Linked DNA regions of Homo sapiens: regions 2, 3, 4, 5 and 6 are each linked to region 1. Evidence: promoter capture Hi-C in 16 types of primary human blood cells and fetal thymus (Javierre and others, 2016). All regions are on one chromosome and are shown on one strand. The core of a region is centred on a gene start or on the middle of the fragment in contact, and the rest is flanking DNA. Distances in the headings are between cores, read along the strand shown. Region 1 holds the start of CHD7 (chromodomain helicase DNA binding protein 7). Region 2 has its middle 240 kb from the start of CHD7. Region 3 overlaps RAB2A (RAB2A, member RAS oncogene family). Region 4 overlaps CHD7 (chromodomain helicase DNA binding protein 7). Region 5 overlaps LOC124901949 (a long non-coding RNA gene). Region 6 has its middle 210 kb from the start of CHD7.

Region 1 (4,945 bases), core at 999-3,498:
TTAAATTAAAATTTTTAGAAAATAAAAAATCAGGGCCTCACAAAATCCTTTAAAAATAAATTAAGACATGTAATGTATTCCAGAAATTAAGCCCCCAAAAGGGACACTTTTTAAGATAAGTTATTTAAATCGATTGCTAGATAATATACAATGGGAAACTAAAAAGTATACTTAGCAAGTGGAGCGCTGGATAGTGTATCTAATTCTAGCAATTCAAAAGGAAACTCTCTCCATGTGGGTTGCTACTTTTCTTTTGTCCATTGTCTGTTCAGAAGAGGGGGAAAAAAACTAGTTTAAACCAAGGCGTGAGCAGTCTCTAAAAGTGACCTCCAGGAAAAGAGTCCGACCCATAGCAGGAGCACTCTCCGCGCCGCTCGCTTCACGGGGGCGCTCACAAAGCGGGCGGCCGGCCGGGAGTTTGGGGTGCGCTCCCACGGCTCCGGGCTCCTCGAGGCAGAGCCATCCGGAGAAAGGCGGCTCGGTAATGATGGCTGCTCGGGGCCGGCGGCTCCTTCCCCAGAGCCTCCCGACCAGCGCCCCCACCCCCGCCCGGGAGCCGCCGCCGCCGCCGCCCCCGCCCCCCCCCCCCGCGACCTCGACAGCCCCGCGCCGCCGCGCCCGCCCCGCACCGCAGCCCAGCCGGTGCCCGCGCCCCCGCCCGAGCCCCGCGCCCCCAGCGAGCCCAATCCCCGGTGCGAACCAAACAAACAACGCGTCCCCCACCGCCCTCCTTTCCTCTCCCCGCTGACCGCTTGGCCTCCAGCCACCTCGGCCGTTCACGCTCCAAGCCGCGGCTCTCTGCGAGGGCAGAGCGCACCCGGGTCACCTCGGGGGCCACCTGGTGACCACCCCCCACCGGCGCTGACCCCCGGCGGGTTGGGGGGCGGGGGAGCCGAGTTGCGTTGGAAGGTTAAAGTCGCTATTATGCAGCTGCCGCCGCCGGCGGCCCGGCCAGCTCGACAAGGTGGGGTCCCCTCCTCGCCGCGCCTCCCGGCGCTCGCCCCGGCCCCGCTCCCTTTCTTCTCCTCCTAGCGCACTTGGGAGCCGCCGGGGAGCCCCAGGAGCCCCCAACTCCGGGCTCGCAACTCCGCGCCCGCGACCGGCACTGGCTGAGCTCGGGACGCCTCCCGCGCCGCGTGTTCGCGCTGCCCCCGCCCCACGCGGCGCCCCGCGCACTTTCCCCGCCGCCGACCCACCTCGCTCGGTGGCGGTCCCCGCGCGGGCTGGCGCCGCCGCGCCGGGAGGAACGCACTTTGTTCGCGCCGGTGCGGCCGCAGCTCCCGGCGAGCGCGGCGTGGTCGGTCCGGAGCGGGGGGCGGGGGCGGGAGGCGGGGGTCGCCGCCGTCCCCGAGCCGCCGCCGCCGCTGCTCAGCCGCCCCGCGCCCGCGCGCCCATCGCCCGCTCGCACTTGAGTTGGAGCCCAACTTTTCCTCCTTCCTTTTTCTCTCGAATGGAGCCGGCAACTCGTGCTCGGCGCCGGCGGGAGGAAACGCGCTCGCGCTCCCCCGCGCGCAGACACGCTCCCTCCTGTCCCCCGTACCCCCCCCCCACGCCGGCAGCACAACAAAAAGCCATTTACATGCGAGGAAGTGACCCTCGGCCGCACCGCGCGCCCCCGCCGCCGCCGGCCCGGCGGACGCAGGCAAAAGTTGGGGCGCCGGGCGGCGCTCGGGGCGCGGGTTCGGGCCCCGCGGGCGGCGACGCCGGCGACACTACGCGGGCGGCGCTGCGCTCCTGCGCTGGCCCCGGCCCCCTCCCGCCCTCGCCCCTCGCCCCTCGCCCCGCACACGCCCAACTCCTCGCTCCCAACTCCTAGCGCGGCCCCGGCCCCGGCCCGGAGCGATTTCCTGCCGCCGCCGCCGCCGCCGCCCCTCCCGGGGGCGCCGGGCGAACTCTCGCGCTCACCGGGTCGGTCGGGCTCCTCCGCTGCCTAGTGCCGAGGGGAAAACAAAACGCAGAGCGGGCTCCGGAGTTGGCTCGGCAGCTGCGGCCAGGGGGCTGAATCCACGGGCACGGAGTTGGCCGGGGGCGAACGGGTCTCTGGTGAGTTTCAGGGTGTCCGGGTCCCCGGGCCGCCTCCTCCGCGGCGCTCCTTTGTGTAATTTCACTCGATTCAAGTTTAATCCGATAGTTCCCGAGCACGAGCGCGTCCGCACCACCACGACTCAACCCCCGCGCCGCCGCCGCCGCCGCCGCTGCCGCCGCCGCCGCCGCCGCCGCCGCGGCCCCAGCACGCCAGCGCCTGCGCGCGTCCGGCACGCCGCGCGCACCCGAAGCCGCGGGGCCGCGCGCGCCCGCCGCCAGCTCCCTCCGGGCCGCGCCGCGCCCGCGCCCGCGCCCGCGCGCCGCCACCTGACGTCAGGCGCGCCTGGCATAATTTATGCAAGAATTCGGCCGGGGTGGCGGAGGCCGAGGGAGAGGCCGAGAGAAAAGGGGCGGCGCGGAGCTGCTGGGCCGCGGGCCGCGGGCCGCAAGGGCGGGCCGGGCGCCACTTCCCGTCCCCTGGCGGGCGCCGGCGCTTCAGGCGGGTCTCCCCGCCGGCCGGTGCGCTGCTGCCGCGGAGTCTTCCTTGCCCGGCTGCACGGAGCGCTCGGCCGCTGCGCCCGGGCGCGGACTGGAGGGGCTGCTGCCACGTCTCCCGCGCGGCACCTTCCCGGAGCCGGGTGCGCCGCCCCGGGGCAGGAAGCGGGGCTCCGGGAGGGCTGCGACCCTCCTGGCTGCCGCGAAGGGTTTCCGACGCTGCGCGGCCGGCGGCGGCCGGGGGTGACTGGCAGTCTCTGCAGTAATTATCCTTCAACTTGAAATTATTTTCCCACATGAAATTATTCGGAAGGGACATGTTCCATTCCAGATGGGTTCGTGCCTGCTTCTCCACATCGCTTTTCCCACCTCTTCGTGGATAGGACACCGGATCCACTACTTAATCAAAAAGTTTAACTAGATGGCATTGATTTTGTCGAATTTGTTACCATACCAAAAAAGAGAGAGAAGGCAGAGAGCTCAATGATTATGAAACAAAGAAATAGGATGTATGCCCATTATTAAACGTGTCGGGACTAGAATGTTTTACTCATTCTTTGGCCAAAATGGCACTTGTATCTGATTGCATAGTCTTAAAAATCCGAGCCTCTTATTCCATTTCTCTTCCCGGTACAAAATGAATGTTAAACCTGAAGAAAAAAAACTTTTTTTTACTAATTTTTATTTTAGGAAATAGATCTACAAACATGGATTAAGCCTCTTCTATCTGCAAAATACGGAGCAATTATAATGTGTTTAAACCATCAATTGTAAACTTTAAGATAATTTTATTAGGTTAAAGATTGCACTTATTTTAAAATCAGGAAAGGAACTCATATCAACCAAAGATTGCCCTATGGCAGGTACAGACTGACTGGTTATTACTGGACTCCAAAATAAACTGAGAAAATAGCAAAACTATGTAAAATGTACTAATCTCACTCACTGATGGTTACACTACCTGTAGTGCTAAGCCTGTAATCACAATATTGTTATTTGGACAAAAGATTAATCAAAACTATCTCATTAAGTAACTACTGCAACTATTCAATAAGTTTGATTATCCTAGACTTAATCACTAAGACATTGATTTTCTGATTTTAGTAATAATTCTATAAATATATCACATTATATTGTGGTTTGTTAAATGCACTGCTTTTAGCTTGCTTTCATCATGTATTTGAGTTTTGTTCTAAAAGAAATAAATGTTTTAATGTTTAAGGAGCTTACAGATCATCAAAAAGAACATAGAAGACAGTACAGAAAGAATTCTGGCATTTAAAAAGTTGAAACCACTAAAATCAACTTCCATCTGTTTTAAACCCGGTATCACAAACCAAGAATCACAACTCTGAGGTTAGGCTACTGTTTCCATTAAGTTTATATTTCCCAATGAAAGTATATGAAAGGTGCTTTAGGGGTGTGTGGGGCGGGGGGGTCAAAAACAGGACACAATGTCTAGAAAAAAAATCGCTAGTACCTGACTATATTAGAACACATTTTTAAAATAATGTGCCATAAAAAATTATGTCTTATCTTTTACAGTGTGCCACAGCTCGATATCAGATGTGCATCTATTTCAAGGCAATTCACAGGAGAAAAAAAATGACATCTACATATAGTGAAATTACAATATTGCAATTAACTTGTTATCAACAAATATGACTATGAGGAGATTCCCTGTGCTCTTGTACATTTAACTCGAAAGCTAGGAAACTTCCTTTTGATATATACCAGTACCCAATGTAAAAACAGTCCTACAGAATATAAGTCCTCTGACTTATAGTCTCCTTATCCTGATCACTGCCCTGAGCCATCATGAAGAAGTCTCTAAGCTTTTAGATGTTGTGGTGGTGTGGAACGTAAGGGGCCTTAAAAAGTAGAGGCCCTCAGGGGCAAACTCCTAGGCAGATCTGGCCTACCTGAGTCATAGCTCTCACCACACCACCACCATCCCCCAACACTCCCCTTTAGCCTGAAATGTTTTTTCTCCATTTGCTTCACTATTGAAGTTTTCCCAATGAGAGTAATTTGAATTCACAAGCTTTCTCTTTAAGTATGCAAATACCTTAGGGTGAGATAAGGGGCTACTGGTCTTTCACAGATGAGTGTAAATTGGTTCAATGGGTTGCTTTCCTCCCAACAGCTAGCCAGAGTAACAAATTTAGAGACTTAGCCATTCATTCAACTTCGAGTGCCTAAGAGTTTCCAGGATTGGTTCTAGGTACTGGAGATATAGTAGTGAACAAAACAGACAAAACGTCCTGCCCTCATGGAGTTTACAATCTAGTGGATTGGTAGTTTTGATCTGGTGATAAGGGAGAATGTTAATTTTGGAGTCTGAGCCCTGGAGGAATAGGACAGACCTGAGTTCCGTGTAGCCAGAGGACAGTGGAAAGGTACTAAGGACCTGGGAAGGAGGGCA
Region 2 (4,370 bases), core at 1,321-3,820, 240 kb before region 1:
ACTCAAATTTGCCAATACCAAATTTTCCCCAGGCACTGGTGGAAGTGGAGAGAAACTGCTACATTCACTGGCATCATGGGAGACAGAGAGACCATCAAACAAAAGTAGGTACAATAGGACCCAAGGGGAAAAAACACAAGCTGTTTGCATTTCTTTGAGAAAGGCTAGAAAAGCAAAGGCAAGTGGTAGGACTCATGAGAAAATACAAAAGTGACAGCTAATTCCAGGCTGGTGAAGGAAGAAAAACATAGGAAGATGAGGCAATATGAAAATAGGAACAGAGCTCTGGGGTGGAGGAACCTACTCCATCCCCGGGGCTTTCTTTAACAGCAGATGGAAAAATGAAGAATTCATATAGTATGCTTGCTTCATGAAGAGTCAGGAAAAGAAAGAGAACAATAAAAGAGTCTAGGTCGGGCACAGTGGCTCATGCCTGTAATCCCAGCACTTTGAGAGGCCAAGGCAGGCGGATTGCCTGAGCTCAGGAGTTCAAGACCAGCCTGGGCAACAGGGCAAAACCCTGTCTCTACAAAAAAAAAAAAAAATACAACAATTAACAGGCCTATGTGGTGCGTGCCTGTAGTCCCAGTGACTTAGGGGCTGAGGTGGGAGGATCGCTTGCGTCTGGGAGGTTGAGGCTGCAGTGAGCCGAATTCGCACCACTGCACTCCAGCCTAGGTGACACAGTAAGTGACACCCCATCTCTAAAAGTTTAAAAAATAAAAAAAAATGTCTAAACTTTGTAACAGCCCAAGAGACCTCTGAGGGTTGAGGTGGGGATAGGACTGGGAGGGGCTGGGATGAGAAAGCTGTGGAAGGAGCAGATGGTATCCTAAACCAGGATGGGGAGGGGAGGGGAGGGAAAGAAGGGAAGCTTGTTTCGGAGCGGCCCAAAGGAGAGGCAAGGAGATAGGTAGAGGCTGCACACTTAGGACTAGCCAGGTGGAGTCTAAGAGAGCACTTGGCACCTCTCTGGAACAGAAGCAACACAGATAGCCAGACTGAGCTAGGGCCCGACAATCAAGGGAGGTTACGACAGATGTCAGTGATGGCCATTCCCAGAAGCTATGCCTAGAATGTCCCCTTTTCCAATCAGGAATTATGCGGAGGGTCAAGTAGCCCAGAGAAGCTCCCCTTGGGGTGTGAGTCCTGGACCTAACTGATGCAAATAATCCTATGGGCTTGCACTGTTGTGGGTACCACCCCATCCCTAGGCACTCAGAACTCCACCCTGGAGGGGAGACGCCTTGTTAGGAAAATACCTCAGGGGAAACGATGGTTGTGGGAGTACATGATGACAGATTGGGGACAATGAGCAGAAAATGAAAGATGGGGACCAGGTGGTGCCCTGACCAGGCCAGGCCAGCTTGCCAGCAGACCCAGTGGTGATGTTTGGGCATGTGACAATCTGCTGGAAAGGAACTCCCGAAGGGTGGTCTCAGAACCAAGATATGGGCATGGATTTCCCAGAGAGAGGTACCAGATTCTGCCCCAATGTGAAATGACCACAAGGAAGCCTGCAGTCCTCTCGGCTTAAGTAACCACCGAATCAAAAATCATCTATATAGGTGAAATGATAGGATGGCTGGGAATTGCTTTATAATTCTCCAGCAAACCAAACAAAATGTGGGAGGGGATAGAATGAACAGAGTGGGGAGGTGTTGTACATATTGAAGGTGGGAGAGGGTACGCGGAGATTTATTGGACCAGTGGATAGCAGTGTCCTTTCCAAACCAGAAGCAGCACCACCTGAGGGCTCTAACAAGTTGCAAATTCTCAGGAGGGAGCTGACCCCAGATCTGCTTAAAAATACACAACAAAAAACTCTAGGGCTAGGGCCCAGCAATCTGTGTTTTAACAAGCCCTCCAGAGGATTTCGCTCCGCGGTTCGGATGCTTGATCAAATTTGAGACCCACTGCACAATACCTTTCTCTCTCCTTTTGTGCATGTGCTCTGATTTCCATAATAAAGGGTTTTAAAAAACCGTCCCTATGGGCATTTTTGTTGTCGAGTTGTTTATTTCTTACATCACTTGTCTTCAATTGCTATTTAACTATTGTTTTGATCTTTTCCTGGAGCCAGAACAGAAAAGCCAGAAAGCAGAAGCCACTGAGACTCTCTCTCTCCCGCCGCGCCCCGCCCCCCCCCCCCCCCACCGCCCAGTTTGCAAATATAAACTTCCTGTAAGAGACGCCCCCGGCCGGCGCACACACCGCTCACACCTGAAGGCTGTGTCTGCAGAGGGGCCCGGGAACGACTCCCAGGGCGACGTGCAGGCCGCATTTCGGAGCTGCCCCACTTTCCCCGGCCTTCACCGGGTGCCCTCAGCGTACGCCCAGGTCCTGGCCCCAGGCGCTCCCGCCTCCCGCAGTCCCAGAGTCCGGGCCCAGGTGGCACTGCCACGCGTCGATCCTGTGTGGGCACCCGGGCCTCGCGAGAGACGACCCCTCTAGAACTGACTTTTCAGAACTGCAGCTCACGAGATATGGGTCCCCTCATCTTTTCCGTTCTCCCTTTCAGAAGTTCTTTAAAAAGACGGGGAAGGAGGTGAGGAGAGCTGGAGGTCGAGTCACAGGGCGGGGCCCTCCACGCACTGTCGCCTCCTCCCCGCTGTTTCGGGTCCTGGATGAGGGTGCGGAGCTCGGGAGACCTGGGCGGTCGCAGGAGGTGAAGGGTTAAGAAGCGGGAGGCCTCCTCCCGCTCCGCGTATCCAATGCCCCTTCCTCCTCCTCTCCCTGTTCCTCCCGCCACCCCCCTTGTGTGCTGTAAAACAATCCCTTTGTTTCCTCTTTAAGACATTAGCCTCAGGGGCCATTATAGGAAAGAAAGGTAGCCAGGCCCTTTTATCTGCGAGAATCCATTAAGCATGGCCTCTGTACAGCAGGCCGGTCGGTTATGGGCTGCTCCACGAGGGGTCCCAAAGTGGGAGAACCCCTCCCAAGCGAGGACCCAGACGCACCTGTATCCCATCTCACTACCTCCCCCTCGGGAACTGGAATTTAGGGGGAGTGGAACGCTGGCAGTTTTCAAACGAGAGTGAATATAGAGCCACGGTGGGTCTCCCGCAGAACCCCAGTTTCACACCTTCCTGCCCTCGCGCCATCTCTTCCTGCACACCCGGGAAATGGGATAAACTTTCGACGGCAAGATGGGAAATGACCCTACTCTTCGTTTCCTCAGCGGGTCTTGGTGCGGGGCCGCCACCGTGCGCGGGAGAGGGGACGCAAGCAGCTGCTGGTCCGGTCGACCAGACGCGCACGTGTGTATCCGCCAGACAGCTGTGGGTCTGTCCGAGGGTACGCGAGGACGCCTCTGTCCCGCAGCCCCGCACGCATTTGATTGTGGTGCTGGGCGACAGCTGCGAATTTTGCCACTGGGGGACCGAAAGAGGGCCTTTTACCTTTCTTAGGAAGCTGTGATGCAAAATGCCTGCTGAAAGCACTGGAGGTTTCATGTGTCTCATCAGAAAATAATCTAACACCGATTCATTATTTATATCTTCCCCCAAGAACCAGTCGCCCCAAATGCGCACTCTGCCCGTGCGCTCCGTCTCACCTAGCCGCCCAGTCACAACAACAAACACCGCCCGCAGGCCCAAGGCACAGGCTCAGTGACCGCGGCTCCGAATTCTGGATTTGGGGACCTGGCGCAGGGGGAGGGGAGAAGGCGTGGCAGCCTGGCCAGGGCCCGGGGAAGGGCCAGTGTGATACTTTTATCAAGTTTAGTGGGCGGAATCTTTTCTTTTTTAAATTGCCAATAATTCGGATTGTTGGAAGTAACGGTGGCAGGAAAGCCACAAAAGAAAACTCTTTCTTTAAATTCTCTGTTGTATCCAGGTCAAAGATACAATATCAAGTCAGTGTCTCTTGCTTGAAATCTCTGTGGAATGACCTTCTTTGGATCTTCTCCTGCTCTTTCACCATGAATATAAATATTTTCTCCACTTACCATATGTTACCCACGCACTTCCACAGACCCCACCGCCACCGCCCTGCTGGGCTCCTTGCAAAAGGAAAGTCTGCCCTGCTCTCTCCTCTCAGCCGGGAGGGCAGGGGGAGGAGGGAGCAGTGTTGTTCAAGGGACAATGTCACTTTCCTCTTCATCAAGATTCTTTGTCAATTGCTGGGGAAATAATTGACCTCAAGCTACTTCAGTCACAACTAATAGAAAAATGGAACGGTGATGTGTCCAGCTGTTAAGGGGAGGCAGGCTGGAAAACAAAGGTGGCAAGGAAGGGGGCTGACATGAAAAATATGTAAAGCTTCATGTGCAAATTCTTGGGAAACAGTGGAATTTCACTTTAAAATAAAACAAAAAACCAGAATTGTGTTCATTTGTCATATCTCCAAGGTTGCGGTTCTTGATTTGT
Region 3 (4,663 bases), core at 387-2,886, 140 kb after region 1:
AAGAGTCATCTTTCATTCCTCTTAAGACTCTTACGTTGTTAGTTTCCCAGTCTTGTTGATTCTGTCTATAATAATTCCTAGTGCAATCAGTAAGTTACTCAAACACAAGAAATATTGAGTGGTGTGGGAAAAGAAAATTGGGAATACAGAGCATTTATTTGAGAAGGCTGCCCAGTGAAAGCTAGGAGGGAAGAGAAGAGATAGTTATTCAAAGAATATTAATTGAATGCATGCCTACTATATTCCAGGCATCAAGTTTGGTAATAAAAATAAAGTTCCCAAGAGGATGTGGCTTTCAGAATGTAAAAGATCTTTCTCCTGGAAACTGCAAAGTGCAGAAAAAAGTACGCTAACAAAGCTGAGAGTTGCTAAAGAATCAATTAAAAAAAGAAATGGACAATATGAAGAACTAACCCTCTACCCTCTTTCCCTTGATGCAATCATCTACTACTATTTCTGTTTCTTTCTTTTACAATATTAAAGTACCCCCAATATTAAAACACTTCTGGGATGAGACCAAAATCACAAAAATGAGTAAATGAGATATAAACTCAGCTGAAAGCCTATGTTCCTATATGTCAGTATCTCTTACACATTGGGCCTCTGCATACATTTATTAAGTGTTCTTTCTTTTTTTTTTGACGGATTCTCACTCTGTCGTCAGGCAGGAGTACAGTGGCGCGATCTCGACACTCACTGCAACCTCTGCCTCCCAGGTTCAAGCGATTCTCCTGCCTCAGCTCCCAAGTAGCTGGGACTACAGGCACATGCCACCACGCCTGGCTAATTTTTTGTATTTTTAGTAGAGATGGGGTTTCACCGTGTTAGCCACAATGGTCTCGATCTCCTGACCTCGTGATCTGCCTGACTTGGTCTCCCAAAGTGCTGGGATTACAGGCATGAGCCACTGCACCCAGCCTATTCAGTGTTCTTTCTCTAATAACCAGCGACTTCTTTTGTCTACTCAGCTACTCATCTTTAAGACTTAACTCAAGTGTCATATCCTCTAGGAAGCTTTCCATAAGACACACCTCTCTTTACAAAGGTAGAAGTATCTTCCTTTGTATTCTCCTGATTTTTATTAAAAATTTTTTCCTGATTTTTATTTTTGGTGAGGTAGGGGAGGGTGCTGCTCCAGGCCACATTTGATTTTTTCAAAGATGAACATTTTCTGCCTGTGAATGTATAAAATAATTTATTTAACTGTCTGGTTTCAGGGGAAAAACACAATAGCCTCTGTTGTCAATGCTAGAAGAGAAAGAACACTGACAAGTTTCTGTGATTATCTCGCTCAGCTTGGGTGTGACGTGGACTCCAGGAAACCAAATCTAGACCTGTGTTTCAACCACTAGATGAAGTAGGCCTCACTGAAGGCCTAGACCTTAAAAATAGACTTATGAAGAACTGTAATAATATGATATATTCAGCAACTACTTACTAAGCACCTTAACTGGTTACACAATGGTTAATGGAGTTGTGCTCGTCGCCCAGTCTGGAGTGCAATAGTGTGATCTTAGCTCACTGCAACCTCTGCCTCCTGGGTTCAAGCACTTCTCCTGCCTCAGCCTGCTGAGTAGCTGGGATTACAGGTGCCTGCCACCACGCCTGGCTAATTTTTGTATTTTTAGTAGAGATGGGGTTTCATCATGTTGGCCAGGCTGATCTGGAACTCCTGACTTCAGGTGATCTGACTGCCTCCCAAAGTGCTGGGATTATTCTTTATCCTGCACTCTTTATAAAATCTCTTTACCTTTAACTCCCTTAAAGTTCTAATTTTTTCCCTTAGTTTTTACCTCATGTCCTTTTGTTGTCTCAGGATCACATCTAAGAAACCATATTACATTTAATTGTCAGGCCTTCTTTAAGGTTCCTCTTGGTTGTAACAGTTTCTCATGCTTTCCTTTTTTGATGTTCTTGACAGTTTTGAGTACTGATTAGGTATTTTGTAACATGCCCTGTGTTGAAATTTGTCTAATTTTTTCATGATTAGACTGGGATTATAAGTGTTTGGAAGGAAGATGACAGAGAAAGAATACCATTTTCATCACATCATATCAAGGGTACATACTATCAATGTGACTGATCACTGTTGACTTTAACCTTCATAACCTGGCTAAGGTAGTCTGTCAGGCTTCTCCAATGGAAAGGAACTTTCCCCCTCTTTTCCATACTGTATTCTTGGGAAGGAAATTACTATGCACAGCCCACACTAGAAGAGTTGACTTCTGCCCCAGAGTTTTCACATAAGGAAAAGCTTTTTACCCATTGTGTCTTATATAATGTCATCTCTCATCACCATATCCAATCTTCTGCCCTTCCATATTGTTTTAACATTACCATGTGTAGGCATTACTCTTATATAAAAAAAATGGGCTGGGCACGGTGGCTCACACTTGTAATCCCAGCACTTTGGAAGGCCAAGGTGGGCAGATCACTTGAGGTCAGAAGTTCCAGGCCAGCCTGGCCAACATGGGGAAAGCCCAACTCTACTAAAAATGTAACAAAATTAGCCAGGCGTGGTGGCACATGCCTGTAATCCCAGCTACTTGAGAGGCTGAGGCACGGGAATCGCTTAAACCTGTGAGGCAGAAGTTGCAGTGAGCCAAGATTGCGCCATTGCACTTCAGCCTGAGCGACGGAGAGAGACTGTCTCAAAAAGAAGAAAGGGAGGGAGGGAGGCAGGCAGGCAGTATTTGAAGTATACACTTTTCAGAAATGGAAAAGTGTCTGAAAATGATCTTCATTTTTAACACTTTTCACTCCCTATGATATCCTTCACTAAACCCTGATAATTCCAGCTCTCATCTGTAACCTCCTTTTATTTTCATTACCACTGCCTTAGACAAGGCCTCTAGGAACCTCTTCTCTGGAACATTTTAATTACCATCTAACTATATACCCGTACCCTTCTAATCTATTCTACGTATGACTGCACCAGGAATGGATGAGAAAAAGACAAAAAGAGAATGGATGAGACAGAAGAAAAGGATTACATTTAACATCTAGTATGTCTACGCTACTATATTAAAATATGAATATATACTGTATTTGGTTTTAAAGTTAATTATAATTCTAGTTGTATACTCTTTCTTTCAAAAACTTCAATGCATTCCACTGTCTACAAAATAGAGTTCAAACTCTACCTTAACCTGTCACATGTACCTCCCTAGGTCCACCATGTTTAATGGATTTATCTTTCCAGCCTTATTTCTCATAACAGCCTGACACAGGGTCCATACTAAAGTTAAACTGGACCGTTCATATCAAGGACAGTACAAGGTGTGGAACTTAGCAGACAACTACCTTCCTGTTTACTCCTATTTTTATATTTTGATTTTTTACCATTTCTACTTGTCAGAACCAGTTCAAATGTTATTGTACCCTATGATTTTCCAAGAAGGAGGAAAAACGCATTCCCCCTCTTACAAAATGCCATACTTTCTTCCAGTTCCTCAGTCAGAGCCCTTATTATATTCTACAAGCACAGCTAGACTATAAACCTCATAAGGGCAAGGATGCATCAAATCTACTTTTTAAATCCTTCACAATTGCATTTAGTCCTACGTTTTATATTTGGTGAACTTATGCCTTCTTCATTTCAAAGTACACGACCAGTTTAAGAGATAACAAATATTTACTGGGCTAGATTTGAATCCTGTGTATGATGCTGATTGAAAAAGTTGCTTCAGGTTTCTAGGCCTTGTTTGCTTATTTGTGTAATGGTAATTATACCACCTTATTCATTGGCTATTGTGAGAAATAAAAGAGATAATATGTAATAAAAGAGATAATGCATCTAGGAAAAATCACTTCTTTTTCCTTTCCCAGTACCTGAAGACAAGCTCACTTTATCTGCTAAGGCCAAATTACTCTATACGTACATACTTGATTAAGCACTTATCACATGGTACTTTTATTATCAGTTTATATATCTAGCTTTACTCCTCAGGAGCAGTAACATTTGCCTTTCTGTATTTTGAAAACGACCTTGCACAGTGGACTGGCTTAAAAGCAGATGCTCAGGGAATGAATTAATGCATCTCATGCTCACTGGAAAGATCACAAAGTAATAGACTATTCTATCAAACAACTCTAGCCTACATCTCAAGAAAAAAAAACTATCAATTTCTAAAACAAAATTTTATTCAACAGTGGATTTTTCAGATGGGGAAATGACGCTAGAGAATGAAAATATGACTGCATTAAATTAGAATTGTATCTGTATCATTATCTGCCCCAAACTTAAGTGTTATTTTCCTTTCAAAAGGTAGTGAGTACTCTCATGTGCCAGTTTTCAATTGACTGCCTTCTTGCTCCAAATCCACCCTTCACTGTCCTTCAAGTGAGACTGAAACCTTTCTACCTTGGTAGGGCACAGGGCATGACAGCTTCATCAGCACTCAGCACCCCTCTATGGCCATCTGCCCCCAGCACTCCTTCAGGTTGCTTTTCATGGAGTTCTCAGGCCACACACACACCATAGAAGCTGAGCACAAAGAGGGCAGCTGTCCAGCCCATTTCAGCCCCTTAGTTAATGTCTCTGACATCCAGTAGGCCTCAGCCATGCCCCTCCAATGAGGTTTGAATGTCAGATCTGTCCTTCCTTCCATGCTCTGCATAGCCTTAGAGGTAGTGACTACTACCCTATCTGCTGTTACCACAG
Region 4 (4,428 bases), core at 124-2,623, 150 kb before region 1:
GATATATGTTTTTACTCCAGACTGTGGATGAGAATGAACAGTACGGGCCCTGGAGCAACCTCTACACAATACAATGTCTGCGTAAGTTATCTGGGCAGCTGCGTGCGCTTAGTTTGTATGTTATCTACACTTTTTCACTATAACTTCCCCAAATTTAGGGACAAAGACACCTGCTTAACAGACACTTCTTGTCAGGACAGAAAAGCTGACCTCAAGGTGTGACCAATTAGGACAACTGCCACATCTGCCAAGCCTTAGGGAGTCCTAAGAGGCTCCTCGCGAACAAATATGCTATACAGGATGACCCTGGAAAGCAATCATCAAAGGAAGAGACACACCAGCTGTGTTTTGGGGGAAAACAACCCACAATGTTCAATGCATATAATTAACATATGACCAAACAGGGTAAACTTGATGGAACTGGGGGTGTCAATCTAACTACCATTGCTGAGATCTCCCCTTTCACACACATCCTGCTGGTAGCATTCAAACCCTTTTGTATCTCCTTTTCTTTTCTTTCCCCTTGGAGGCTATTATTTATTTTCTTTTGTACCAGCTATTAAATGCAAACACATGTATGTGCACAGTGCATGCACACACGTGTCCTCATCTCGCTCCATCAGTTGCCCTAAGCTCTGTCTCGCCAACTCAAGACCTGGCTAGTTAACACTCACCGTAACGGCTGCACAAGCTTCTAAACATACTGTGATTAGCAGATTGGCAGTATCAGATACATAATCATCACACATGATACTCTCTTTAGAAGACAAAACTAAAAGCACAAAAAGAAATTCACTGGCCAGGTGCAGTGGCTCACACCTGTAATCCCAGCACTTTGGGAGGCTGAGGTAGGCAGATCACTTGAGCTCAGGAGTTCGATACCAGCCTGGGCAACATGGAGAAACCCCGTCTCTACAAAAAATACAAAAAAAATTAGCTGGGCGTTGTGGCGCATGCCTGTAGTCCCAGCTACTCAGGAGGCTGAGGTGGGAGGGATGCTTGAGCCTGGGAGGTCGAGGCTGCAGTGAGCCGAGATCGTGCCACCGCACTACAGCCTGGGCGCCAGAGTGAGAACCTATCTCAAGAAAAAAAAACTGTGTATATATATATAAAAAAGAAATTCACTGATTCGTCGCATCACACCAATGATCCCAGGTGCAACACTCTAAGACTATCTTCCAGGAGTGGACTACTCTGTCCATTAGTAACGGAGACTTCTGAATCTAGGGTGGCCGATGAGTTACACGTTATTAAAAGGGGAAAGATTAGAAATTCTTTAAATTAGCTGTCCTTGAACATAAACTGTGATAAAGACAGACCAGGTTGTGCTCCCTTTTCCTTGGAAAGGAATCTAATTGCACTGCTGGCCAACTATCATCGTGTACAAGTCTCCCAAATTAGCCTGCCACCACCTTTCTTTAACCCACATTAACTTCTACCCAGAATACAATAGCCTCTGAGCTGGTTCTTCTGCTTGTCTGTCTTTCCTCCTCCCATCCTTTTTATGCAGTGTTGCCTGACGCATCACCCTGAATCATATTTCTAATCAATGCTCAGCTCAAACACTAGTCATGGTTCTTCACTGCCTGCAGAGTAGAGTGGAGGTTCCATGCACTAGCCTTTAAGGAATTCTGCAGCAGGATCCAAGCATGTCTAAGGTGCATTTCTTATGTGTGCCTTTTACTTTGGGAAAGTTCCTCATTGTTTTCCTGACCCCCTCTCTTTGCTTGTATCGTTACTTCAGCCTAAACATCTTTTCTTTTTCTAACTCTGCCTCGCAAAATCCTTTCTACCCCTGCAGACTTGCCTAAAAAGACCATCTCCTTCTAAAGACTCCCCCAATCTCAATCCCTCAGCTAACTGAAGACTGCTTGTGGCGAATGCTCCCTTCTTATTTACCTTTGCATTCTCCAGAGTATCTTATACAACATAAGCATGAAATATTTACTACCTTAATGATTTCCAAAAATACATAATAAAGGTTTTAAGCCATGAGTTACATAACACTATGAATTTAGTTAAGAAAAGAGGAGGGCCATAAATTATCAAAGCTTTAAGTTAATTTTTTTGTTCTCAGAGGATAGAGGTGCTAGATGACTCTGGACTGAGAGGAAGATGAGGACATTTGCTATCAAAGGCTTGAGACAGCTGATAGCTGTCTGCTCACACCTAAGTTCCTCTTTAACATCTCTGATTTAAATACACACACCCCAAGAAAACCTCCATTAGGGGCTCATTTCTCTTTGGCTGTTAGCACTTCAGATGACTTCTAGCCCTGGAACACTAACGCCTCTTTTCAAGCACAGGGAGGTCAGGAGAAAGGCAAGGTGAGATTCCACTTCAGGGATTGCTGGGGCAATGGTCACTCACCTTCAGCAACCACAGAAGGAGGCATCACAGAAAGTGGGAAGCTGGTGAAACCCATGCTGAGTGGACAGGAGACAGGAATGACTATACACCATGAAATCCCCAGTCTGGGGGCAGAAAGGGATTTCTGGTGCTTCAATCGTCACTTAAGCAAGTTCGCGAGCAGGGCAGCCTTACCATTGATAAGGTACGGATGATTGCAGCACTTCCGCAATTCCATCATAGTGTTTAATAGGTTAGGTACGTTAGCTTGACCACCGCCTTTGGAAAGAAATGTGAAATTCTTCTCAAGGATGGCTCGGTAATATTTCTTCTGAATGTTTGTTAGCTCAACTTCAATAATAGTTTCTTCTTTGGGGGCCAAGTTCTTTTCTACATCCTCTTTGAGACGTCTCAACATCATTGGCTTTAGAATAGCTTGAAGTTTTTGCACCTAAAAAAGGACCTTAAGTAAATACTAGTGTCATGATTTGCTTGCAAGTTAAAACATATTTTAACATGAAACATCAGGATTATCTCATTCATTAAACATCCATTTTCATTTTTCAAAGCCCAGTGAGAGTATGAAGGAGCTCATCTCTCAGCTTTCATAAGAGCAGTGCATGAAGGTTGCATAATTTTATGTCAAATGAACTATTTCACCCATCCAGGAGCCCTGAACAGCCAGAAGGCTTGAAAAGTACCCAGCAGGAGAAATCCAACTGATTCATGTAGCTTTCCCTTCTGTTTGTCCTAAGCCATAGGGAAGATAGAGAAGAGGGACAAGACAATGTCATGGCAATGCTCTGTTTCTATTCTCTTCCTTTCTAGGGAGAGCTAAAGAATGAGAGGAAGTGAGCCAGGAGCAATCTAGTCCCTGCACTAAGGAGCCAGCAGAGACGTCTCTCCCTGGTTCTCTTTTCTATTGATTGGCAATAGAACTGAGTAATCCATACAGTTTTTATTTTAGAAAAGAAAAACAAAACAGACCTTACTCTGAACTGAGCTAACAGGTTTTAGACAGTAAGTCAGTGGAGGGGGCACGTAAAAACCAAGATTTCAAGTCTATCTCCGTTATTTATTTCAAATACAGCACACAAATTATAACTAATGCCCACATAACTCTTACAGCATATAAAATAGCCAAGCACTTTTCTTTTCTTTTCCTTTTTTTTGAGATGAAGTCTCACTGTGTCACCCAGGCTGGAGTGCAGTGGTGCAATCTTGGCTCACTGCAACCTCTGCCTCCCGGGTTCAAGTGATTCTCCTGCCTCAGCGTCCAGAGTAGCTGGGGCTACAGGCGTGTTCCACCACGCCCGGCTAATTTTTGTATTTTTTTTAGTAGAGATGGGTTTTCACCATATTGGCCAGGCTGGTCTCAAACTCCTGACCTCGTGATCCGCCTGCCTCAGCCTCTCAAAGTGCTGGGATTACAGGCGTAAGCCACCGCGCCTGGCCCAAGCACTTTTTATACACAATGCTTCATTTACTTCTCACAGAAATACTGTGCAGTGGTTATGCCCTAAGTTTCTAAAGTGAAAATACGTAGGCTTGAAGAAGTAAGCGGTGTGGCTGAGTACAGATGCTTCACAAAGAACAGAGACTCAAAACTGCAGCAGGCAAACAGGCCTACCAACGTCAGTGGCGTCTGACATCATCCCCAAAATTACACATACCTAGCAAAACTACCAACCTGCACAGCACAGCTATCTCTGAAAATTACATCAACAGGTATGTAACCTCTCTATAAATCTCAACAGCCCTTCACAAGAGCAAAAAGACAAACAAATAAAGAAGAAAACCTTTATGATGATGACCTGGAAAGTCCAAGGAAAGGGTATCTAAGGTTCTGTGTACTAGGTGGGAAAAACTGTAATATAATCACACTTTAAAATAACTTAATACTTTGCCATTTCATGGGCTAATCTTCAATTTTATAACTGAAATACAAAGTGGAGCTGATAAATACCTGCTCTTCTGTTTTTAGATCACCAAATTCTTGCATAAATGTGGTTTCTGAAGGGAAGCGACTTGGTTCCAAGAAATGAAGCAAGCTGAAGAGTTCTTCCACAGTGTTCTGGA
Region 5 (4,651 bases), core at 944-3,443, 170 kb after region 1:
TGTAGCTGGGGTGACAGAGTGAGACCCTGTCTCTAAACAACAACAACAACAATAATTGTATGGTCATTAGCAAGCAGTGAGTTTTTGATTAAAAAAAGAAAAAAATAATTGTGTAGTCAGAAAAGGAAGATCAAGCATATTTTTTCAGTTTTAAAAAAAGTTATATGCAAAGCAATTGTTTTAAGGCTAGAATACAATGACAAAGTAGATCCTAAAAAGGATTTTTTTTTTTTTAAGAATACTTGCTGTTTGTTTCCATTCCACGTCCTTAGGGATTTACGTGAACAACAGAGTAAACCGTTTATTTATACTTTTTCATGAACTTTGAATCATTTTTTAGAAACTGAATGTTTTCCTGCCTGTGAAAACTCTTATATCCAAATACTACAGCAGCTATTATCATTATGAATAACATTGTATATTATGCATCATTTTGCATTTTAAGTTAAGTTTAACAAAAGTTACACTAAATGGGGGTGGTGAAAGTACTGCCATTAGCCAAGCAAGTTTAAGGTACAAACCAGGAGGGAAGCTTCACTATCATTTGATTCCCCAAAAGTACCTTTTCTGATACTACAGTTTAGTAATCTTTATTAGAAGAACTGCAGCCTTATGTAATTTTGAAATCTTATCTTGAAGTTTTCATTACCAGACTTACTGAAGAACATTTTTTGCTCTTAGTATATGGGTATTTTAATTTTCTTGATACTGTATCTGATACAAATTATAATACGAAAGTGTCCGTTTGAAAGAGCAGAGTATTCAGCATTGACACACTATACTTTTTGTTGATTTTTCCTTTAGAAAAATCAATTATAGACAAAAACCTCTTTAGAACTAGATCCTTCTTCCTCTCCTTGAATTAACTGCATGCATTTCTGAAAGGTTCTTCTTTCACTTTACCTCAAAAGACACTGAATCCAAACACCAGTGGTGAGATTGTCTGATCTGAACTCTGAGATAAGCTATTTTGCTTTAAAAAAACAAAAAACAGACAGGTTATTGAATTACTAATTGAAATACAAAAACTAAATTACTTACCTTTCCTTTCTTGGAAACAAGCAGAGATGAGGAAGTATACGTGTAACATGGTTTGTTATAAGTGACCCAGTAGATAGGAAATTGAAAGTGGACTCAGTTTACAGGGATCCTTCAAGTAGTGTTAATTCACTCAAGAAAATTTTAAAGTTATTTAAGTAAATAACAATTTAATGATTTATTTAATGTAATCATATGAAAAAGAACATTTGAGACCTGTCATTCAGATGCCAGGCCCTTTGCCAAGTGCTATAGATAAAGAGAGAGGTAGACTTACCATGAACCTAATGAAGCTTAATTTCAGGGCCCCTAATTTGCAGAAACATCTTTTAATGCAAATGTGTTCACATGATCAGTTTTCTATTTTTGCAAATAAAAAGTTGCTAAAGTAAGATATTTAAACCTTAATCAGTGAATTCTATTGTCTCTCTTTAGTCTTCACTTCCATCTGTGACACTTGCCCTTGTGTTGAGAGGTGTTAGAGAATATTCACAGATCTTTTTTTTTGGTACTGGTTAAGGAAGAGTATTGTTGAAGATACACTTAGTTTTGTAAGATATATTAATTTGATCACTTGCACGTGTAGTTGAATTATTGCAAAGAATTGTCCAGTATAGAAATGGCTTCCAGAGACACTGCAATCTCTACTGTGCTGATTCACACTGCATCATATGATATAGAGGTTGTATCTTAATTTAGCATGGTCCTACTGGATTTGCTTTTTATTACTAAATTACTAAATAACCTTAGAGACTAAAGACAATACAGCATTGTGAGATAATTAGGGGGTATTGTCTTTAGCCTCTAGGGTTGTGGTAAATCTGGGCATCGTCTCACTGGATTCTCGACTCAGGATCTCATAAGGCTAAACTCAAGGTGTTGGCTTGGTTGCATCCTCATCTGGCATTCAGAGTTCCTTTCCAAGCTTACATAGTGTGGCCAGATTCATCTCCTTGTAGTCATTATTTCCTTGTTGGCTCTTACCTGGGAGCTGCTCTCAGCAACTAGAGGCCACTTGAACGACTTACCACGTGACCTACTCTATTTCCAGAGCTGGCAATAGAGAATCTCTCTCATTTTTAATCCTTCATGCTTTGAATCTCTTTGTCAGGAAGGGTGCTGTTCCCTTTAAGGACTCAACTGATAAGATCTGGCCCATCCAGGATCATCTTTCTATCTTAAGGCCAACTGATTTGGAACATTATTCACATCTACAAAATCCCTTCACAGCAGCACCTAAATTAGTGTTTCAACAACTGGAAAAGCATATGTGTATGCCAGGGTGCAAAAATCTTGGGAGTCATCTTATATTTCTACCTACCACACCTGCTGTGCCCAGCATGGAAAGTATATGGGTTAATGAGTTTTACCTATTATAAAGCTTTTCAACTCAGAATGTATATTTTCAAAGACCTGGAAGGAACATTCAAACATAAAGGAAATGAAAACATTTTCCAAAAGCTCACACAGCTAGAATACACCATTTTAGTGGCAATGTTTCTATTAAAACTAGTAAGAATTTATAGACTCCTCATTTATTTATGAAAAACCTGGATATGCTTATTTATTAGAACAAAGAGTTCATAAGAAGTTAACAGCATGTGCAATGAAAGCAATAAAGATGAATAATAAAATGAATAAAAGCTAGGTACAGTGGTGTATCTTGCCTGTAATCCCAGCACTTAGGGAAGCTGAGATGGGAGGATTGCTTGAGCCCAGGAATTTGAAATCAGCATGGGCAACAAAGTGAGACCTTGTCTCTACAATAATAATAATAAAAAAGTTAGCAGGCCACTATGGCATGTGCTTGTAGTCCCAGCAACTTGGGGAGCTGTGGTGAGAGGATTGCTTGAGCCCAGGAGAATGAGACTGGCTGCAGTGAGCCATGTTCCTGCCACTTCACTTTAGCCTGGGTGACAGAGCAAGACCTTGTCTAAAAAAAAAAGACTCAGTGGCTTTCTTGAACTCAGAAGAAAGGGGCCCCTGCCCTGAACCCTGCGTTTTAGAGTACCTTGCCCATCACAAATGTAAAAGCACAAACATACTTGTTTTTGTTTCTGACCTCATGGTTGCAGGAAGCTGGCTGAGAACAGGAGAGAATGGCTTGGGGGAAAAAAAAGCTCTTTCAAGTTGGCCACCCCAAATCACCCAGATGGGTGTCCAGGCAAATCAGGGCCTCTAGACACTTGCTCTTCTTTTCCTCTTCTACTTGGCTGGTATTGTTTTGAGAGGTGAATTTCTAGGAGGGCAAGATTTTTGTGTGTGTGTGAAACAAGAGAAAGGTTATCTGCTTAACCTAGCTCCCTGAGGAACTTAATCAAGTCACTCCCATTCTGGCATTTGGGTGGGTCCAGGCAGCACCCAAGAGTCCAGGACCTCACCAGGTCCAGCTCAATGACAGACTTTGTATGGAAGAACTGGGAAGGAGAAAAAAGTAAGCATGATTCCTGTTTATTTTGCCTGATGAACAAAGTAATGCAATTAATTGAGGTAGGAGACCAGGTATGTGGGAAAAAGGAGAGTGAATCAAAGATTCTGTTTTGGACATGTTGAATTGAGATGCCAGTAGACTTCTAAGTGATCTCACATGAGCGATTGGACATTTGAATCTGGAGCTTGGGGGAGTGGCCTGAGCTTGAGATAGAAATACTACATAGCTGGCATAATTGTGGGGGCCAAATGTTTTTTTCAACTATGTGCTAGACATTTGTAGTTCCTCTATTGTAGATAACATGCTTGTGTCCTTTACCTATGTATCTATTGAATCTCTCACAGTTATTCTTAAAATTTCCTAAAAGTTTAATGCAATAAAAAATGTTTAACAAACTACCTTAAATCATCTAATTTTTACAGCAAGCCTGGTACAGCTTTTTAAATTTTTGACTAATGAGAGTTGTGACCTCCACAGACAAATTTAAAAATCATCAGCATATAACAAATAAGAAAAACATATTTGTCGTCCACAAGGAAATGATGTATGCTTTATGTTCACAAAGCAAGGCTATATTGTGTCTCCCAAGGGGGCTCACAGGCTGGTATGTATAGTAAATCAGGCTTAGAAACCTGATTTCTCTGTATATCAAGAGTGAATTCATCTTTCAGGAATGGACTTACATTAACCTAGTTTATGAGTCTGATTTTTAAAAGCAGAAGGTCAAATTGCAATGAGAAATCATTGTCCCAGAGACAGGGATATTTTAAATTTGTGCAACTAGCTTTTTGTTATCCTGGACAAAGAATAATGTCTATGGAATATTTAATGACCTTAAGCTAAGAGAACATGAGTCACCCATCTCACTTTTGGGATGAGAAAAACATTAATCCCAATACCTTTAATCAGCTCATTCGCTCACTTACTTCATCAGCCCTAACCACACCCTGTTATCTCCCTCTGAACAGCGCCATTTATCTCTTTGGCCTCTGCAGCATTTATAATCCTGGCCTAATGGCTTTGCCCAAGTATCAAATATTTTGATGAATGAAAAACTCCCATGAATCATGTTTAAAACAAGTTTTTTTTTGTGGTTGAAGTTCTTGAGATCTAAACCATGAATCATGTTTTAATAGAGAATACTGCTTTTTATCTCTGAGACCTTCCTTTTTTGAGGGTTTA
Region 6 (4,322 bases), core at 1,126-3,625, 210 kb before region 1:
TAGGTGTTTGCTGGGAGAGACTGCTGAAGAGTGACACTGACTCTTGAAAAATAGTAAAGAAAGGCAATCATCCCAGCATAAATAATTGGTTCTTCTCATTCTTTATTTTACCAAGAAGGAGATAGGAGCTTAAGTCAGGCTGTGTGGACAGTGATTAATTGTTTGGCCACCTAGTAAAAAATTAGTAAAGAGCAAGATTAAGAGTTGGTGACCAGATCAGGGAAAGAATATAGACTGACCTCTGAGAACAGGCACCAAGAATGCCATGATAACGCTCACCAAAATTCTTCCCAGTGAAGGAGGCGCTCTTTAATAAGGTGGACATGACCGTCCTCTCGGGATATCAGTCAGCCACTATCCTCAGAAACCCAGTGCCACCGAATAGGTACATGAAGTGAGAGGCCGTGGAGGGAGGAAGCTATGCATGGGCTCAGAGACAAGCACGGGCCCTCACCTGGCTGCATATCCTCCTCACCTGGCTGCGTATCCCACTTGCCTACTTCAGTGATGAACCCTGAGTGTCAATGTGGCACCATATTCAGGAGCAGCAGCTTGCCTTCTGGTAGCCTGTTGATTACACTGAATCTTTTCCATAACTGTAGAGGTAGCAATTTGTTTTCACTGGAATGAACACTTATTATGAACCTGGATTGCATTGGCATTCCTTCCTAACAAGCTTCTTCCTTCATGACACACATGGCCTTCATGAATGCCTTATCAATCATGATGGTATCTCATACCCACATAGAATTCCTTCTCACTAAAGCATTTTTTTTTTTTTTTTTTTTTTTTTTTTGGAGATGGAGTCTCACTCTGTCACCCAGGCTGGAGTGCAGTGGCGCGATCTTGGCTCACTGCAACCTCTGCCTCCTGGGTTCAAGTGATTCTCCTGCCTCAGCCTCCCAAGTAACTGGGACTACAGGTGCGTGCCACCATGCCTGTCTAATTGTTTGTATTTTTAGTAGAGATGGGGTTTCACCATGTTAGTCAGGCTGGTCTTGAACTCCTGACCTCAGGTGATTAGCCCGCCTCTGCCTCCCAAAGTGCTGGGATTACAGGCGTGAGCCACCGCGCCTGGCCTAAAGTATTTATTTTTGAGTGAAGGAAGACAGGCAATGGGCTGAAGTCTATGGGAGTCTCCAAGCTTGCCTTGTAGCCCACATCTCAGAAGCAGCTGCCCTTGTAGAACAGCAGCATAACCAAATGAAGACTCAGTTCTAGAAACAGCAAATGTAGGGGGAAATCCTTGCTCTTAAACTAAATGATATTGCCAGTGAATCATCATTTTTGACCTGAAAAAATGGTGAGTTCACGCCACTCGATGTAATGGTTTGGGACATACAGAGAGTGGGAATCAGCGATCCACATGCAGTGGATCCTTCCTGTGAATAGGGATGGTTGGAGGAATAGTAAAGCCTCACAACCACTTGCAGCTATTTTGTTTTCTGACCCCAGAGCTCTGGGCTTTGTTAGAGGTCTTAATAAATAAGGGAAGAATGCTTCCAGCAGGCGAGGCAGCAATGGTTCCATTGTAAATTTGAAGCTGAGACTCACACCTGGGCATTTCAAAGTCCTCTTGCCACTGGATTGAAAAAAGGAAGTGTAGGCCGAGGCAGGTGGATCACCTGAGGCCAGGAGTTGGAGACCAGCCTAGCCAACATGGTGAAAACTCATCTCTACTAAAAATACAAAAATTAGACAGGCATGGTGGTGTGTACCTGTAGACCCAGGTACTCGGGAGGCTGAAGCAGGAGAATAGCTTGATCCCAGGAGGCAGATGCTGCAGTGAGCCGAGATAACGCCGCTGCCCTCCAGGCTGGGTGACAGAGTGAGACTCTGTCTCAAAAAAAAAAAAAAAAGGAAAGAAAGAAAGAAAAAGAAAAAAGAAAGTGTGTGGTGTGTGGGGGATGGTATGGGTTTTGACTGAAGTAATCCGTCTGCTAAGAAAGAGGAAATGGAGTTCTGCTCTGCAGTGGACAATAGGAGCATAGATGGGGTGCCTCAGAGAACCGCAAGGTTCTTGCAACCTGGAGTTGGTGAGCTTGCTAGGTTTCCTCTTCCTGCATAAATGAACCAACTCTCTTTCTGTGTAAGTGAACCAGAGTTGGTTGCCATAACTTGTATCTAAGAACTCTGCCACACTGGGCTATGCCGAGTCCATAGCTGTAAAATGGAGGTAAGAAAATTGCCCATGGATAGGCTAATGGTTAAGGACACGGATTTATGTATCAGAGAGTTCTTGATTTGAATCCTTTCTCTGCCACTGGCTAGTGGCATCATAGGGAAGTTATTTGACATTTTGAAGCCCGTTTTCTCATCTATAAAATAGGAATGACAATAACATCCATATCATAGGCTTTTGCAGGGATTAAATGAGATAATCCATGTAAAATGCATATAGCAAGGATTAATAGTGTTAGCTATTATAATCTATGTTTTTTTTGAATTGATATGAGTCTTAAGAGAAAAGTACCCAATATAGTGTTACTTATTATCTAGGCTGTATCTGCCCCTTTCATTTCCTTCCACACCATCCTTGTTCTTGATGATTAACTACATTTCAACCTTGTGACAGTGGGGGGAAGGGCATTTTGTGTGCTGGTGGAAGAACTGGGGTGAGAGAAAGCATACCCAAGTGTTAGTACCTGCTTCTCACCAGCTGGGTGGACTGAAAAGAGTTGGTTCTTCCTCATAACTTGAATGGGTTGGATTCCTCCAGCTTTTTTCCAGCTCCAGCATGTGAATGCATAAGGGGAAGGCTGCGCTTCTGCTGGACCATCACATCTCTGCAGTATGTCCTGTGATGGGGAAGTTGATAGGTGACAGATAAAATAAAAAATTATTCAGATCCCAATTTTCCGAAGCACCAGACCCAATGACGTTTTCTTTTTTTTTTTTAATAGATCATGTATTTTTTTTTCTTATACTTTAAGTTTTAGGGTACATGTGCACAATGTGCAGGTTAGTTACATATGTATACATGTGCCATGCTGGTGTGCTGCACCCATTAACTCGTCATTTAGCATTAGGTATATCTCCTAATGCTATCCCTCCCCCCTCCCCCCACCCCACATCAGTCCCCAGAGTGTGAGGTTCCCCTTCCTGTGTCCATGTGATCTCATTGTTCAATTCCCACCTATGAGTGAGAACATGCGGTGTTTGGTTTTTTGTCCTTGCGATAGTTTACTGAGAATGATGATTTCCAATTTCATCCATGTCCCTACAAAGGACATGAACTCATCATTTTTTATGGCTGCATAGTATTCCATGGTGTATATGTGCCACATTTTCTTAATCCAGTCTATCATTGTTGGACATTTGGGTTGGTTCCAAGTCTTTGCTATTGTGAATAGTGCTGCAATAAACATACGTGTGCATGTGTCTTTATAGCAGCATGACTTATAGTCCTTTGGGTATATACCCAGTAATGGGATGGCTGACCAGACCCAATGACATTTTCCCCCAGATATTTCAGTCAAAAGGATCAGACCTTTCTGAGTTAAGACCTTAATGAGTTAAGACATAACAAATACTTAGAACAACTTTAGGGTAACTATATAAGTATAAACCATGATACTACACACTTCCTAGATGGGTAAAGCTTAAAAAAATGTTCCCGGCCGGGCATGGTGGCTCAAGCCTGTAATCCCAGCACTTTGGGAGGCCGAGGTGGGCGGATCACGAGGTCAGGAGATCAAGACCATCCTGGCTAACACGGTGAAACCCCGTCTCTACTAAAAATACAAAAAAATTAGCCAGGCGTGGCAGCGTGCGCCTATAGTCCCAGCTGCTGGGGAGGCTGAGGCAGGAGAATGGTGTGAACCCGGGAGGCAGAGCTTGCAGTAAGCCAACATCGCGCCACTGCACTCCAGCCTGGGTGACAGAGCAAGCAAGACTCCATCTCAAAAAAAAAAAAAAAAAAAAAAGTTCCAAGTTATTATTTGCTTCCTTTAAAAAACAGGATGTGTAACTGACTTGGAAAAAATGACCCAACCTTTATAGAATAGGCTAGATCTGAGTAATTTACTGAGTAAACAAATAACTTGAGAAAGGAAAAGATCTAGTAATCCTCAGAATGTTGAATGAGGGATAATTACTTGGGATATGATGTCATTACTTTACACATTTTATCTTTAATTCTGATTAAGGTTTTCTGAATTTTATTCCCCTAACTAAATTTATTCTTCTAACTAAGTATATTTTAAAGTGTTGACTAAACAAAGCATTCTAAAGAGAAAGGCCCAGCAGGGAGTATATATATTTAATAATTCACAGTGACTATATCCTTGTAAATTACAACTCTCCTGTTCTTGTCTTTCTCA

What was found. Contacts are between HindIII fragments. The CHiCAGO score rates a contact against its expected background, and 5 or more counts as called.
Region 2: a fragment that was not itself captured here is called in contact with the fragment with the promoter of CHD7 in region 1 in 14 of 17 cell types (naive CD8 T cells, activated CD4 T cells, naive CD4 T cells and 11 more); the score reaches 29.6 in naive CD8 T cells.
Region 3: a contact is called between a fragment that was not itself captured here and the fragment with the promoter of CHD7 in region 1, in 1 of 17 cell types (naive CD8 T cells). The highest score is 5.3, in naive CD8 T cells.
Region 4: a fragment that was not itself captured here is called in contact with the fragment with the promoter of CHD7 in region 1 in 10 of 17 cell types (naive CD8 T cells, activated CD4 T cells, naive CD4 T cells and 7 more); the score reaches 20.7 in naive CD8 T cells.
Region 5: a fragment that was not itself captured here is called in contact with the fragment with the promoter of CHD7 in region 1 in 1 of 17 cell types (naive CD8 T cells); the score reaches 5.1 in naive CD8 T cells.
Region 6: a contact is called between a fragment that was not itself captured here and the fragment with the promoter of CHD7 in region 1, in 12 of 17 cell types (activated CD4 T cells, naive CD8 T cells, non-activated CD4 T cells and 9 more). The highest score is 18.6, in activated CD4 T cells.

What each region holds. Positions count from the first base shown.
Region 1 is chr8:60,676,043-60,680,987 of GRCh38, reverse strand. It overlaps CHD7 (chromodomain helicase DNA binding protein 7), which reads right to left and starts at 2,248. Exons shown (of 38, transcript NM_017780.4): 1 at 1,906-2,248. RefSeq lists silencers at 771-1,140, 1,801-1,900, 2,261-2,700. The HindIII fragment of the contact is 9,178 bases long and covers 1-4,357 here.
Region 2 is chr8:60,921,135-60,925,504 of GRCh38, reverse strand. No RefSeq gene overlaps it. Among named protein-coding and RNA genes, the nearest start is that of CHD7, 240 kb to the right of the region's middle. RefSeq lists enhancers at 2,362-2,875, 2,876-3,389. The HindIII fragment of the contact is 3,388 bases long and covers 877-4,264 here.
Region 3 is chr8:60,538,490-60,543,152 of GRCh38, reverse strand. The region is part of intron 1 of RAB2A (RAB2A, member RAS oncogene family); the gene reads right to left. Among named protein-coding and RNA genes, the nearest start is that of RAB2A, 24 kb to the right of the region's middle. The HindIII fragment of the contact is 1,240 bases long and covers 1,017-2,256 here.
Region 4 is chr8:60,828,694-60,833,121 of GRCh38, reverse strand. It overlaps CHD7 (chromodomain helicase DNA binding protein 7), which reads right to left. Exons shown (of 38, transcript NM_017780.4): 14 at 4,316-4,428; 15 at 2,545-2,800. Among named protein-coding and RNA genes, the nearest start is that of CHD7, 150 kb to the right of the region's middle. The HindIII fragment of the contact is 1,360 bases long and covers 694-2,053 here.
Region 5 is chr8:60,503,018-60,507,668 of GRCh38, reverse strand. The region is part of intron 1 of LOC124901949 (a long non-coding RNA gene); the gene reads right to left. Among named protein-coding and RNA genes, the nearest start is that of RAB2A, 12 kb to the left of the region's middle. The HindIII fragment of the contact is 456 bases long and covers 1,966-2,421 here.
Region 6 is chr8:60,883,474-60,887,795 of GRCh38, reverse strand. No RefSeq gene overlaps it. Among named protein-coding and RNA genes, the nearest start is that of CHD7, 210 kb to the right of the region's middle. The HindIII fragment of the contact is 2,457 bases long and covers 1,147-3,603 here.